3 separate regions of the Homo sapiens genome follow, and all the other regions are linked to region 2. Evidence: promoter capture Hi-C in human tissues and cell types (Jung and others, 2019). All regions are on one chromosome and are shown on one strand. The core of a region is centred on a gene start or on the middle of the fragment in contact, and the rest is flanking DNA. Distances in the headings are between cores, read along the strand shown.

Region 1 (2,783 bases), core at 227-2,726, 640 kb before region 2:
AGCCTCAGCGTTGCCCGTTGCTTGGAGGCCCTGTCGGAAATCTCTTTGCAGGATTCCGTTTGCGAGCCTGGGTTATTCCTCATTCCGGCAGCAGAGGGTGGCCTGGCTCCTTGCTCGGTGAACGTCTCTGGATGCTCTTAGCTGATGACAGGCAGGTCTTTCTGCCTCCTGCTTTCCACCGCACCAGGCTCGCTTGGGCTCGCCTTTCTCCAGTCCCTGCTTCCTCTGCTCTCCCACAACCCGGCGCAGCACCGTACATGCTCACTCAGCTCCCAGCTTCCAGCCTCCCCCCTGCACACCGGGCCGGTGTGGGCAGAAGGAAGAGGGGCATATTCCCAGACACCGCCATTGCACTTTTGTGCCTTTTCCCCCATATTCAAGAGTTGCCTCCCTCAGGAAGCCCTCCTGGACTGCCTGACCCACAGGCACCTTTACAGCATGAACGGAAAGGCCATAGCCTAGACGGGGCACTGGGCGTGATTTGTCTCTCGGGCGCCAGCGTCACTTGCAGGCCTCGTGATAAGGAATGGACACCGTGGGTTCTTCTGCCCAGCCTGGCCTGTCCTCCTGGGGTCAGCCCCTCAGTACACCCCAAGCCTGCAGCTCTCTGGGGACTGCGGGTGCTAACCCATCCCTATCCCTGGTTAAGGACTCAGGGTGGGAGCCGGAAATAGGTTTTGGACACCACAGTCTGGGCACTGTTTTTCTTTCTTTTTTTTTTTGAGACGGAGTCTCGCTCTGTGGCCCAGGCTGGAGTGCAATGACACGATCTCGGCTCACTGCAACCTCCGCTTCCCGGGTTCAAGCTTCTCCTGCCTCAGCCTCCCAAGTAGCTGGGACTACAGGCGTGAGCCACCACACCTGGCTAGTTTTTGTATTTTTAGTAGAGATGGGGTTTGGCCATGTTGGCCAGGCTTGTCTTGAATTCCTGACCTCAAGTGATCCGCCTCCCAAAATGCTGGGATTACAGGTGTAAGCCACCGGGCCCGGCCCTGGGCATTGTTTGTAGAACTTTCCAGTTGGCTTGGGGTTTTTGAGCTTGGGATCAGAGAGCACCTGAATAAGACTCTTCCCATTGGTGGAAACTTAAAAAAGTGGGATGCAGGGGCTGACACAGAGACTATTAAGAGAAAGGACAGGAACACAAGGGCTGCTGGAATGTCAGCCCAGAGTTTCCAGATGCCACAATGTAAGAGTTCACCAGTGGCCGGGCACGGTGGCTCACGCCTATAATCCCAGCACTTTGGGAGGTTGAGGCGGGCAGATCACCTGAGACTGGGAGTTCGAGACCAGCGTGACCAACATGGAGAAACCCCATCTCTACTAAAAATACAAAATTAACCGGACATGGTGACGGATGCCTGTAATTCCAGCTACTCGGGAGGCTGAGGCAGGAAAATTGCTTGAAAACCCGGGAGGCAGAGGTTGCGGTGAGCCGAGATCACGCCATTGCACTGCAGCCTGGGCAACAAGAGTGAAACTCCGTCTCAAAACAAACAGACAAAAAAAAGAGTTCATCAGAGACAGTGACATAAACAAGAGCTGAGAGATGGAGAGAGATTTGTAATGACACCTGGATCCAGCTGTGCCTGAAGCCATTCAACATGACATAGAACTTCCTTTTTGTTTCTTGAGCCGGTTTTTGTTATTTTGTTGGACCATCTGGATGTCCCCTCCACCCTTTTTTTTTGAAACGGAGTCTTGCTGTCGCCCAGGCTGCAGGCTGGAGTGTAGTGGTATGATCTTGGCTCACTGCAAGCTCCGCCTCCCAGGTTCACGCCATTCTCCTGCCTCAGCCTACCGAGTAGCTGGGACTACAGGTGCCCGCCACCACGCCTGGCTAATTTTTTGTATTTTTAGTAGAGATGGGGTTTCACCGTTAGCCAGGATGGTCTCGATCTCCTGACCTCGTGATCCGCCCGCCTTGGCCTCCCAAAGTGCTGGGATTACAGGCATGAGCCACTGCACCTGGCCCACCCTTTTTTTTTGACAGGTTCTGGCTCTGTTGCCCAGGCTGGAGTGCAGTGGTGCAATCACAGTTCACTGCCACCTCAAGCGATCCTCCCACCTGAACCTCCTAAGTAGCTGGGACTACAAGTGTGTGTCACCAGGTACAACCAATTTAATTTTGATTTTTTGAGACAGTCTCGCTCTGTCGCCCAGGCTAGAGTGCAGTGGTGCAATCTCAGCTCACTGCAATCCCTGCCTCCTGGGTTCAAGCTATTCTCCTGCCTCAGCCTCCCAAATAGCTGGGATTACAGGCTTGCGCCACCATGCCCGGCTAATTTTTGTATTTTTAGTAGAGATGGGATTTCGCCATGTTGGCCAGGCCGGTCTCGAACTCCTGACCTCAAGTGATCCACCCGCCACAGCCTCCCAAAGTGCTGGGATGACAGGCGTTAGCCACCGCGCCCGGCCAATGTATATTTTAAAAGTTGTTTTCCAGCATGAATTTAGAGGCCAGCTGGGTAGAGTGGTGGACAGGGCTCCCTCAGCACCTTCTGTCAACTCCTGGCCACTCTCTTTCCCTTAAAAATTATAGACATGGGGTCTCACTATGTTGCCCAGGCTGGACTGGAACTCCTGGCCTCAGGCGATCCTCCCGCCTCAGCCACCTGAAGTGCTGGGATTACAGATATGAGTCACTGTGCTGAGCCTTCTCCTCCCTAAGGCACTTGTGTGCCAAAGGGCTCTCTCCTGGGGGCCACCCCCCGTCAAGTGGCCAGGAAGGCACTCCTTCCACCCCAACCCTGTAGGGGAGCAGGGCAGTCCAGCTGTGTCCT
Region 2 (2,700 bases), core at 201-2,700:
TGCCCCCTCGGCCACCGCTGCCTGAGTCTTTGCCACCGCCCCCGCCAGGAGGCCTGCCTCTGCCACCCATGCCCCCCACAGGGCCTGCGCCCTCAGGGCCCCCGGGACCACCCCAGCTACCCCCGCCAGCTCCAGGGGTCCACCCCCCGGCCCCAGTGGTGCATCCCCCTGCATCTGGGGTCCATCCCCCAGCTCCTGGCGTCCACCCCCCAGCTCCTGGCGTCCATCCCCCAGCCCCTGGGGTCCACCCACCAACCTCTGGGGTCCACCCCCCAGCTCCTGGAGTCCACCCTCCAGCCCCCGGGGTTCACCCACCAGCCCCCGGAGTCCACCCACCAGCCCCTGGGGTTCACCCACCAGCCCCAGGGGTCCATCCTCCCCCATCAGCGGGGGTTCACCCCCAGGCCCCGGGGGTGCACCCAGCAGCCCCCGCCGTTCACCCTCAGGCCCCAGGGGTGCACCCACCAGCCCCAGGGATGCACCCTCAGGCCCCGGGGGTCCACCCCCAACCTCCCGGGGTCCATCCGTCGGCTCCTGGGGTCCACCCTCAGCCTCCGGGAGTTCACCCCTCAAATCCTGGGGTGCACCCCCCAACTCCCATGCCCCCAATGCTGAGGCCCCCACTTCCCTCCGAAGGCCCAGGGAACATACCTCCCCCTCCCCCAACCAACTGAGAAGCTGCTCCCTCCCCCAGCAAGCCCAGCGCCAGGTGCTCTTGCCTTTTCCCACTGAGAGAAGGCTGCTCTTTTGTACTGCCCCCCGCTCATTAAACAGCCTCCCCCAGCCCTGAGTGCACTGATGTCCGCAGCGCCGCCCTACTGTGTCAGTGTGTGTGGGAGTGCCAGGCACAGCACCATCCCCCAGTTTGGGCCGACTGGGGAGGGCCTGGGGCCCGCCAGGAGACACCTGTGGGAGGCCTGAGAGATGGCTGTACCTTGGAGATGGCCTGGTGGAGGACAGACCCCACCAGCCAGCTAGGAGGGGATCTGGGGTCCTGTTCTGGGGAGGGAAGAGCAGACTCCACGATATCCTTGGGGTCTCCAGATAGCCCACCAGGGGTGGGGAGGGTGAGCAGGGACAGGGCGCCCCCACTGACTTGGGACCCTCCTCCTCCAGGCCCACACCTCAGCACCCAGGACATCTGGGCCCCCCGCCCCCAGCGCTGTCTAGTTTGGTTGCCTGGCCGTCACTCCCAGCCTGGTTCCCACTCCTGTGTCTTCTGGGGATGGCCCTCAAGGACGGCATGTTGACACATCAGGCCCAGCTCTATCACTGGGGAGGGAGATAGGCTGCCAGGGACAGAAAGGGCTCTTTGAGAAGGCCACTCTGCCTGGAGTGGGGGCGCCGGGCACTGTCCCCCAAGGTCGCGGCAGAGGAGATAGGGGTCTGTCCTGCACAAACACCCCACCTTCCACTCGGCTCACTTAAGGCAGGCAGCCCAGCCCCTGGCAGCACCCACGATGCGGGACCTGCCTCTCACCAGCCTGGCCCTAGTGCTGTCTGCCCTGGGGGCTCTGCTGGGGACTGAGGCCCTCAGAGCAGAGGAGCCAGCTGTGGGCACCAGTGGCCTCATCTTCCGAGAAGACTTGGACTGGCCTCCAGGCAGCCCACAAGAGCCTCTGTGCCTGGTGGCACTGGGCGGGGACAGCAATGGCAGCAGCTCCCCCCTGCGGGTGGTGGGGGCTCTAAGCGCCTATGAGCAGGCCTTCCTGGGGGCCGTGCAGAGGGCCCGCTGGGGCCCCCGAGACCTGGCCACCTTCGGGGTCTGCAACACCGGTGACAGGCAGGCTGCCTTGCCCTCTCTACGGCGGCTGGGGGCCTGGCTGCGGGACCCTGGGGGGCAGCGCCTGGTGGTCCTACACCTGGAGGAAGGTATGTGGGGCCCAGCCCCAAGCTTGGCACCGCCGTCTTCCTTCAGGTGGGCCGGGTCCTCCTAGGGAAGATCAGGGGCTGGCAGAGCCCCCACCCTGGGCAGGGAGGCTGTGGTCTTGTTCCTAGGACTGGGTTGCGGGTCCGTGGCCTGGAAGGTGGGCACCACACTCTGTCCTGTCCCCGAAGCCCAGCTCTTAGACTTGCCCCTGCCTCGGTGCCAGGGAGAGAGCTGCTGCCTTCTCCCCACCCCTGAAGACGACGCAGGGCTCGGGGCCAGTGGAACCCTTCTTCCCACAGCCCCAGCCTGTTCTCAGGGCCGCTGGCCTAAGATACTCCCTGCGGGGAAGGGGCTTCATCGGGCACCCCAACCCAGAGACCCCAGGGCGGCAGCCCCACCCACAGCCTCAGACGCAGCCCCTGCCTGCCCCTGCCGTCACCGCTCCCTGGCTGCAGGAAGGCAGCTAAGAGGGGCACCCTTGTCCCCCGCTTGAGGTCCCCTGCACAGTGGCCAGAGCGGCAGGGACAGATCCCAAAGATTCCCGGGGGGTGTGGCCTTCAATGGCTCAGGCGTCCCCTGCTGTCCCGGCTGCAGTGACCTGGGAGCCAACACCCTCGCTGAGGTTCCAGGAGCCCCCGCCTGGAGGAGCTGGCCCCCCAGAGCTGGCGCTGCTGGTGCTGTACCCTGGGCCTGGCCCTGAGGTCACTGTGACGAGGGCTGGGCTGCCGGGTGCCCAGGTACCAGGGAGTTGCATGGGGCAGTGCCCGGGCCGTGGCGGGGGGCATGGATTTGTTGCAGGGTCTGCAGTACTGAGAACAGCGTAGAACCAG
Region 3 (2,713 bases), core at 83-2,582, 530 kb after region 2:
AAGGGATTCTCCTGCCTCAGCCTCCTGAGTAGCTGGGATTACAGGTGCACACCACCATGCCCAGCTAATTTTCATATTTTCAGTAGAGACGGGGTTTCACCACGTTGGCTAGGCTGGTCTTGAACTCCTGACCTCAGGTCATCAGCCCGTATGGTAGGGTTTTTAAAGCATTATTGACATTTAAAGCTGGATCATTTTCTGGGGTGAGGCCGTCCTGGGTACTGCAGGGTGCCGAGCAGCAACCCTGGCCTCCACCAACTCCAAACCAGGGGGTCCCCCAAATCATGACAAGCACAAATGTCACCAAGAATCCCTGGGGCACAGAATTGTTCCTGGTTGAGAACCACTGGTCAAGGGAGGGAAAAGGCAGACAAAAGGAATAATCAGAGACAGAAACAAAAGAAAATGGGACAATCATTCAACCTCTGAAGGGCACACTACACTGCAATTTTCTGGCACCTAATAACAAAAACAGCTATTCTCAAGCCAGCTCTCTCTTATCAAGTTCCAGGCACCTGATCAAATAATTGAATGTGGGTTTATCCTCATAATGACCCTCCGAGGCATCTGCTTTTACAACTCGTTTGCGAAAGAAGGAACAGTTTGCTCAGAGAGGGAAGGCGACTCACCCAGGTTTACACAGCGGGTGGGAGGTGGTGGTGGACGGTCCTGAATCCCAGATTTCCCCCACCTCTAGCACGATATGCAGAAGAAGACTCTAAACATGATATAAGACGAACGCCTGCTAATTCTTTGGAGTTCTCAGATTCCGCTGGACCCTGCGGCTCTCCTTCTCCTAGGCAGGGACTTTTGAACAACGCCCGTTTTACAGAGGGGAAAACTGAGGCTCCGAGAAGCCAAGAGGCTGGGCAAGGTCACCCAGGTAGGGACTGGCGGCGCTGGAACCAGAGTTCCGACTTCAGTCCCCACAAACGGGGGTCCCTGAGTCACAGGGACGACGTTTCCAGGCGGTTAATAAGAGCGGAACGGCAGCGAACACCCAGCGAGCGCTCACTACATGCGGGGCGCCTTCCCCTCCCGCCGTCCTCGCCACCAGGCCGCGGACCAGCATTTCCAGGACCTGGGGCCTGGGGAAGGGAGATCAGGGCTCGAAGGGCCTGCCCGATGGCGCCCGGCCTCAGTTTCCCCTCCGCACCGCCTACTCACAGGACCCCGCGGGTCGCGGTGACCCTGGCCTCACGATCCCCAAACTCTTACGAGCTTTGGGGCCCCGTGGGCCCCGAGCCGCAGACCCCAGACCCACCAGGCTCAGCGCAGTGCCCCTCACTCACCTCTCAGGCGACCGATCCCCGACCCACCGACGGTTGCGCTTGCGCACCGCGGTGCCGCCCGGCCCCGGCCCCAGGGCGCGACGCCTGCGCAAAAGAAAGGCGCCCGGAGTTGCTTCCCTTCTGCACAGGCGCGTTAATGATGGAGGCGGGCGTGGAAGGAAGTGACGCAACGTAGAGGCGGGAACCAGCTGGTTGTTAGGGCAACTGACCTCTGCGACCTAATGGAGGCCGGAAATCGGGTCTGGTTTGCCCTCTAGAGCGGGAATGAAGCGGTGCACGGTGGAACAGTGGCTGACTCCAGCCGGTCGCCGAGCTGACCACGTGGTGCTGGGCCGGCCACGTGGTGCAGCCGCGTTTGGACACCTGGACTCCAGAGCGTCACAGCTGCGCAATGAATGGGAGTCAGTGTTACCCGCTTACTATCTTTGTTCATTTATTCACCCACCCATCTACTCACCCACAAATGCATTCTTTCATGCAGTGTGAGACGTTTGTGAGTATAGAGCCATTTGTAGACAGCAGGTGCCTAATATTCATTCAATATTTATTGCAAAGCAGCCATAAAAACCAGCAAAGTGTCTACTCTCATTATTTTGCATTGGGGTAGACGGACTATAAACTAATAAACTAGTACATAAATAGAGAAACAAATTTCACAGCAAACACTAAGAAAAAAAAAATGAAGGTAGTGTGATTGTCACTGGGAGCTAAGTCGCATGGGATGGGTAGGAAAGATCATCCTTTACATTTGGATTTCAAGGATAGGAAAGTCCAAACGGACCCCAGGCACAGGGAACAGCGAAAATGAACGCCGATGTAAAATTAATCTTGGTGTTGCTCAAGACATGTGATGAGACATTTCCAAGGACGACAGAAAACTGATCACCATCTAAGTTACAGTTGCCAGAAATGTTCTCCCAATTCATTTTCGTCCTACTCAAAATACATGCACGATTAATGGCGTGGATTATTTTAATTTCTTTTGCAGAAATAAAGGAGGTGAGGCCGGCCGTGGTGGCTCACGCCTGTAATCCCAGCACTTTGGGAGGCCAGGGGGCAGATCACTTGATGTCAGGAGTTCGAGACCAGCCTGGCCAACACGGTGAAACCCTGTATCTACTAAAAATGCAAAAATTAGCCGGGCGTGGTGCGGGCATTTGTAGTCCCAGCTACTCGGGACGCTGAGACAGGAGAATCGCTTGAACCCGAGAGGCAGAGGTTGCAGCGAGCCGAGATCGCGCCATTGCACTCCAGCCTGGGCGACTGAGCGAGACTCCCTCCAGCCCCTCCAAAGCAAAAGAAAACAAAACAAAAACAAAAAAAGGGAAGAAAGGAGGTCGGTTGTTTTGGTTTTTGCCAGTTTAATTGTAGTACATTGTTTTTTCTGGGTGCCCTAACAGTTCAAGACAGATGGTTCAAGA

Evidence for each region. Contacts are between HindIII fragments. The study calls those that stand out against the background at their distance.
Region 1: a contact is called between a fragment that was not itself captured here and the fragment with the promoter of AMH in region 2, in 1 of the 25 tissues and cell types used here (dorsolateral prefrontal cortex).
Region 3: the fragment with the promoter of SGTA here is called in contact with the fragment with the promoter of AMH in region 2 in 1 of the 25 tissues and cell types used here (IMR-90 fibroblasts).

The regions. Positions count from the first base shown.
Region 1 is chr19:1,605,882-1,608,664 of GRCh38, forward strand. No RefSeq gene overlaps it. Among named protein-coding and RNA genes, the nearest start is that of UQCR11, 1.8 kb to the left of the region's middle. RefSeq lists enhancers at 1-81, 537-1,158, 2,641-2,690, 2,721-2,783. The HindIII fragment of the contact is 3,073 bases long and covers 1-2,783 here.
Region 2 is chr19:2,247,873-2,250,572 of GRCh38, forward strand. It overlaps AMH (anti-Mullerian hormone), which reads left to right and starts at 1,451. Exons shown (of 5, transcript NM_000479.5): 1 at 1,451-1,872; 2 at 2,465-2,607. The coding sequence starts at 1,461. It overlaps SF3A2 (splicing factor 3a subunit 2), which reads left to right. Exons shown (of 9, transcript NM_007165.5): 9 at 1-783. The coding sequence ends at 674. RefSeq lists promoters at 1-1,460, 1-1,429, 1,181-1,460, 1,251-1,460, 1,429-1,460 and an enhancer at 1,394-1,533. The HindIII fragment of the contact is 11,600 bases long and covers 1-2,700 here.
Region 3 is chr19:2,781,941-2,784,653 of GRCh38, forward strand. SGTA (small glutamine rich tetratricopeptide repeat co-chaperone alpha) reads right to left here and starts at 1,333. Exons shown (of 12, transcript NM_003021.4): 1 at 1,293-1,333. RefSeq lists enhancers at 99-198, 1,695-1,764 and a silencer at 1,255-1,304. The HindIII fragment of the contact is 32,124 bases long and covers 1-2,713 here.